Linked DNA regions of Homo sapiens: region 2 is linked to region 1. Evidence: promoter capture Hi-C in 16 types of primary human blood cells and fetal thymus (Javierre and others, 2016). All regions are on one chromosome and are shown on one strand. The core of a region is centred on a gene start or on the middle of the fragment in contact, and the rest is flanking DNA. Distances in the headings are between cores, read along the strand shown. Region 1 overlaps DNAJC1 (DnaJ heat shock protein family (Hsp40) member C1). Region 2 holds the start of ENKUR (enkurin, TRPC channel interacting protein).

Region 1 (3,378 bases), core at 427-2,926:
GACCTGCAGGCTTGGTATCTGGATCTGCAATGGCCCCAATGTAACCTCAGGAGGGAGCCCTAAGCCACCTATATAAGACCTAGTTCTTGCCTAGGTGTCTCAGAGAAAAGAGTAAAAACATCTATAAAGCCACTAGGGAGAGGTGAAGAGAGAGGAGAGAGAAACTCACACTCAAGATGGGCCTGAAAATTAAAATTCCACTCGCAGAAACATAATATTTCAATTATCAAAGAGAAATTATTTACTTCACAGTTTAACCACCTATGTGCAATTCTTAACAATGCCAAAGTCTAAAACATTTTTATAACACAATGACAGGTTTGAAGCAGATACACAAACTGCACAACTATACACGGGGTGCTGCTTCAAGAGTCTATAGCAATTTCTGGCTACATTTTTAATTAAGTTTATTCTGTGGCCTCTATTATCAAAGATGGCATACAAGAAATCATCTTATTTTTCAATCTTCCATAAATTTCCTATTGCTGACTTTGATAAACCCTGGGAATTGTATATAGTAACCACAAATCATGCCTAATACAGTGCCAAGACAACTGTAACTATGGTGGCTTGCATCTTCTTTAGGGTGGCCTTGGTACATATCTAAAGACAATGAAAACAAGTAGCCCCCTCAGTTTGGATGTATTTTTTTTAAAAAAAGGCCTTACTGTGTGGAGAAAATCAACAAATAATTATTTCCCTTGTGCATTTTATTTTAAGGCACAAAGAAAAATTATTTAGAAGAAGTATATGTTCAGGGGTACTCCAGAAGACAGTGAGCATGTTGAAAGTAGATAAGAATTATGATTTGGGCTTTAAGAATAAAATTTCCACTGAGTAGTATTATACAAAAACTTAACAGGTTGTTTCATAATCCCTATGGTTAGACACCATCAAACAGGCTAGAAGACCATCTGCTGGGAGTGCTACAGAAGAGACTCCTATATAAGGAAAGAGAAACTCGTGAGGTCTCCACCAACTTCAGGACTCTATTGTCAGTTTTAAAATTTTTGTTTTGTTGTTGTTTTTCCCTCAGCATAGAATGTTTAAGATCTTGGACACCAGTACAATTTCCTGGATGTACCAAGTCCATTTGAAATAACAGGAGCTAAGTATGTGTAAGAACTGTCAACAGTAAAATCTACTTCTTTTTCTCAGCTATTTATGAAATTACAAAAGGTAAAGGCAAAAAGATCGTTAATTAATCATTCAGTTCAAAGTAAAGGTGTACTCATTAGGAGTTATGAAAAGGTAGCAGAGGCAGCTAGTAAAAAAGGGTGATGTTAGAATCCCTGATTGGTATTATAAAGAGCCAACAGATTGGCACACAAATAGAAATGCACCTAGCAATCTCTATTCTAAATCATTTAATTAAAGATACTATAATAATCAAAATAGATGACAGGAAAGAATATAGTGAATATTTCATAGCTAGCAATATATAAGATGTATGAGTTTCAGAATAGGGAGAATGGGCACCCTGAAAGCTAAAACTACAAAATAGGAACTCCAGTGATTTCCTGGTCAAAATATCACTAACGACCTAATATACTGTTAATAAATAACACTTAAAGAATTATAAAATATAATAGATGAGCTAGCAAAAGTAAATGACCAACTTTAATTAAAGTGATTACCTGAAACCACCCTTAGCAGACAAGCCTATGCATGGAAGTTCAGACAACCAATGTTCCTAGAACAGCATGAACTTTATACCAATAGCCTTTACAGAACAAAGCATGGTCAAAATGTATACTATAGATAAGTAACTAGGAATATGATAGCTAGCACAATTGGAACAACCTAAAAACAAAACAACAAAAGCTACACTGGGTTTAAAAAAATACGAAAACTACAAACTATGTCCCTAACAAAATGGAAACAATAGTCAGTGAAAAACAATAATCAGTGATTTTATCCAAAAACATTTAGCTATATCTACACAATACAGAAATGTTAATTCCCTAAGGCTATCCAATGTATGCTATCCAATAAGCATTAGGCATATTTAAGCACTTAAAATGTGCCAGTACAAATGAGAAACCAAAATTTTAATTAATTTATATTTAAATTGAAAAACTGATATTCTACTGAGTTACTGGAAAGTTTTGCTTATAACGATTTGGGTACGTGAATGTACCTGTTAGCTATATGCCTTATGAAATCTCAATACAGATCAAGTATTTTCAATCAAAATTTGGCTTCCAAATTAAGGTGTGCTAGAAGTATAAATGTAAAACATACACGGATTTTGCTGACTTAGTACAAAAAATTAAAATGTGAAATACTTCATTAATAATTTTTGGCTGGACATGGTGGCTCACGCCTGTAATCCCAGCACTCTGGGAGGCCAAGGTTGGCGGATCGCCTGACATCAGGAGTTCGAGACCAGCCTGACCAATATGGTGAAACCCCGTCTCTACTAAAAATGCAAAAATTAGCTGGGTGTGGTGGCATGTGCCCGTAGTCCCAGTTACTTGGGAGGCTGAGACAGGAGAATTGCTTGAATCCGGGAGGCGGAGGTTGCAGTGATCTGAGATCGTGCCATCGCACACCAGCCTGGGCGACAGAACGAGACTCTGTCTCAAAAAATAATAGTAATTTTTGAAAATGTGACTCCATGTTGGAATAATATTTTAGTATATTGGGTTAAATAAAATACATTATCAAAATTAATTTCAGGCTGGGCATGGTGGTGCACTCCTGTAATCCTAGCTACTAGGGAGGCTGAGGCAGGAGAATCGCTTGAACCCAGGAGAACGAGGTTGCAGTGAGCAGAGATTGTGCCACTGCACTCCAGCCTGAGCAACAGAGCAAGACTCCATTTCAAAAAAAAAAAAATTAAGTTCATCTGTTTTTTACATTCTTAAATGTGACTTTTAGAAAATTTAACATCACCTCTGTGTTTTGTATCACATATCTATTGCACAGTGCTGCTCTAAGGGATCAATGGCTTGAAAAAGTGTGTCAGCTGTCAAAAATCTGAAATATCTGTCAGTCATGATTTATATGTAAAATATTATCTTATCCCTTAGTGTCACAAAATATTTCTTTAGGCTACCCAGAATTTGAATATTTATACATTTCAAAGTCATCTGTATCCTCTTCATACAGTGGATCGTTACAGATCATTAAAGTATTACTCTGGAGTTATTGTAAACTTTGGTAACATTTAATGGCCATTCTGACATCCAGGCTAAGTAATCAAGTAAAGAATGCTAATTAATCAAAGACTTATTGATTTCGTCTCTATCTAAATTCCCTCGGCCATACTTTAACAATACTTTTGTTTCTACGAGAGCTAAACAAGGATCTTTAGTATAGGAAACATTTTGATAAGAATCATTTTATAAAACAATTTTATGTTTACATATATAC
Region 2 (3,245 bases), core at 126-2,625, 3.0 Mb after region 1:
ATGGAGATGTAATACAGTTACTGCTCTAATTTAAACCAGATACTTAAAATTGAAGAAGCTGCCTACTTGTTGAAGCTATTACCCTAATACTAGTAAAAATAATTGACCATTAGATCTAAAAGGGGCCTTGGATATTATCTGGTACATTTATCTCACAGATCAGTAAACAAATGAAACTTTATTCTAAAGTTCACAAAGACAATTAATTGCTAGGCCCGATTTTTAGTCCAGTCCTTTTCAAATGTGGTTTTGACTTGCATACGGACAAGGATGATGGTAAAAGACAGGAAACATTTCAAGTCCTAGGAGAAATGAGATTTTCTCCACTACTTTCTTTGCTCCCCACAGATTTAAGTAAGTTCTAAGAAGTCCCTACAGATGGGAGTAACTGAAGTGCTTCCTTTGCACGTTTTTGAGATTTGGAGAATTTAAGAGGTTCTAAGACCTATGTAAAATTTCAACTCAATTACATATTTTTTGGTTCATTATCTATCCACCAATTCTTCCTTCCATTTAAACCATTAGATCTGAAAAAGTCCTTAGAAACTGCCTAATAGTGGTAGATATTTCGTTTCACTGATCAAAAACCTGAGGCTCAAAAGCAAATGTAAATTTATATTTCATAAAAATCTTGGGGGAAAAGTCCTATCCTATCCCATTAGAGAGGGAGTAGTGCAGTTAGAAATACAACACCGAACTCCTGAAACCAAACATCAAGTATCCTTAAACAAGATAATAGAATTGTGATTTTTTTCTTTTCAACATGAAACTTCATACTATGCTGTATATCACATATAATTAAATTACACAATAATCACATACCGTATTAATAAGAGGTTAAGTGTAATATAATAAAATGGTCATCTCACAGCGCCAGACTGCCCTCTCTGTAAAACTGTGAGATGCTGAATACCTAGATATTTCGACCTTTTCTCTAACAAGTTATCCTCCAAGGCTACTTCATCGAGGCAAAAATACATTTTATTTATTATTAAAAATTCCAGTATATGTATGCTTAATTAATACTGAGTATTCCCCATTCTTGTTTCAAGTGATAGTCTTTGCTTATCCACATACCTAGGAGGCTGGGGAGGCTCCTTCAAGTCACTGGGTATGAGGTTATAAATGCACTCAGAAGAGCACGTTGGATCCATGGCCACCAAATGACTCCTTAAAAGCTACTCTCCACAACTTTTTTCTCCCTGTCCCAGTATCTCCGTCCCTTTCTTCACTGCTTCCCCTTTCTTTCTTCTTCGCCTTCTGAAGGACCACAGGTTCTCTCCTTCACATCGTCCCCCTTTAACCCCCTCTTAGCAGTCCTCTCTCGGGAAGAAAACACCCTATTTCTCTCCGGATTGCTAAGCGTCGTTGACTGTGCGGTTGCCGTGGAAACCGTTACTAGGCAACGAGGAAGTGGCAGGCAGCACCGCAAACTAGGTCTCCCCTCTTCCCTCTTTCTGCAGCGCCTTCTGCTAGAGAAGCTCATTTGGAAGCCACTGTTTTTACGTGCCTTTGAAAGTTAACGGGGTGAAAATGATGTCCCCTTAAAAACTGTGCTCTTTTCTATTTCTGTGTATCTGGGGAAAAAAGAAAAATCCTAGTAGAGACGGCAAAGCGCAGCTGGTGCGCAGGCGTCACCCAATAAGGTTTTTGTGAGCAGGCCCCAATCGCGGTGTGGGCGGAGCGAGCGGCTGAGACCACGAGGACGCAAGGCCAGCGCCGCCAGGGAGACGAGGGAGGGGAGGAGCCTGAGGAGATCGGAGTGCTCGGATAGGCTACAGTGAGAAAGGAGAGTCACGTGCCCTGCGCGAGGCCGCTCGGGGAAGGGCGTGGAGCGGAGGCACGCTGGCCGCCGCAGGCACAGGCGCAGAGTCCACTGCGCGGGGGCGGGACCGGGGAGCTAGCTGCAGGTACGGTGCTCCGTCTCCTGTGGAGGCTTTAGCGGCTCGTGGACACTGCTCCCCCATTTCCTTTCATTTCCCCCGTCTTCTCAGTGAGATTTCCTTGGTGAGTTATTGGAGGAGAAAGGAAGGAAAACTAGAAGCCAGCCCGCTCCCATCGCATGCCTTTCCCCGTACCGTCCCTTCCCCTTTCCGCTACTCGCTGGTCATCTCAACTCTGCGCGCATTTTTCCTGCTGCTTCTGGTCGAGGCTCCTCGGAACGCCGCGCAGCCCTGCCCGCCACGTGTGTGAGTGCGCGCACGGGGCCCGCGGCCTCCTCCGCCTGCTGCGCTCGCCCTCCCGCCCCTGCTCCCGGGACCGCCCCTTGGGCGGTCCTCCGGGTCGGCTCTGCGCCTGCTCTTCCCCGGGTCGGGACTCTTCCTCTAGGTCGTTCTCCAGGAACCAGTGGACCTGCTCTTTGTAAATGAGCAGCCTAAACTAAGAGGAGAAGCCTTTTAAGTGGGCCTTTACGTTTTTGTCCAGTTTTTGGTGTCCCTTGTTGGAAAATTGTCTTCTGAGAAGCGGTTTTATTCCTTTTTGTTCCACCTGGTCACCCGTAAATCTATGCACATGGGCCTGCCGTAGGAAAGTCATTTAGACGCTTTTACCCGAGTGTTTAAAAGACATTTTGGTAATAGGATTTGGGGAGGAAGATGGATGCCTCTGAACCACCGGTACAGAGGCCACTCTGCCCGAAGGAAATAAAGCTTCCCGGAGAGGAGAGAAAACACACTTGAGTCTGGGTTTCTCACTGCCTGGTTGGCTGGCGGAGTGATTAAAACAACACAATGGCCTGGTGAACCTTTTAGTTCCTGTATAAAAAGGCTTTACTGAATGTGTAGGTCCTTACTTTGGGCTCTTACTGAATTTCACTACATAAGAATACGTTAAGTTTTTCTTTTTTTTTTTTTTGTATACAGTTGATTTTAATTTTTGTCCCAGACGCTTAGGGAAAATTCTCCAGATTTCTTCACATCAGATTGTCTTCCAAAACATTTTAGATAGATGGATCTGTAGATCTATATTTAGATCTAGATCCAAATCTATATCACTTTGCCCCTTTCTTTTCGCCCTTGAGTATTTTATGTTTGGGATTTCTGTTTAGCAAGTATAGAGAAAAAATTTGGCGGGAAACCTCCTGTATGTACGAAGATTCGAACCAAGGACTCATGGAATGATAACGCCATTAGCCAAGTGGATAGTCACTGGCTAAAGCTTATGAATTTTCTAATTAGAAGGAACACCTTGAGACTATTTGTGTTAATCAGTTCCTGAAATAGCAAGTAAGGGCAAAACATGATTTC

What was found. The method cuts DNA at HindIII sites, captures the fragments that hold promoters and counts their contacts. A CHiCAGO score of 5 or more calls a contact.
Region 2: the fragment with the promoter of ENKUR here is called in contact with a fragment that was not itself captured in region 1 in 1 of 17 cell types (total CD8 T cells); the score reaches 5.5 in total CD8 T cells.

Annotation. Positions count from the first base shown.
Region 1 is chr10:21,989,725-21,993,102 of GRCh38, forward strand. All of the region lies in intron 1 of DNAJC1 (DnaJ heat shock protein family (Hsp40) member C1), which reads right to left. Among named protein-coding and RNA genes, the nearest start is that of DNAJC1, 12 kb to the right of the region's middle. The HindIII fragment of the contact is 5,693 bases long and covers 1-3,378 here.
Region 2 is chr10:25,014,783-25,018,027 of GRCh38, forward strand. ENKUR (enkurin, TRPC channel interacting protein) reads right to left here and starts at 1,376. Exons shown (of 6, transcript NM_145010.4): 1 at 1,078-1,376. The coding sequence starts at 1,154. THNSL1 (threonine synthase like 1) reads left to right here and starts at 1,830. Exons shown (of 3, transcript NM_024838.5): 1 at 1,830-1,910. RefSeq lists silencers at 1,382-1,431, 1,762-1,961, 2,142-2,221 and enhancers at 1,505-2,267, 1,578-1,872, 2,472-2,551. The HindIII fragment of the contact is 2,880 bases long and covers 1-2,646 here.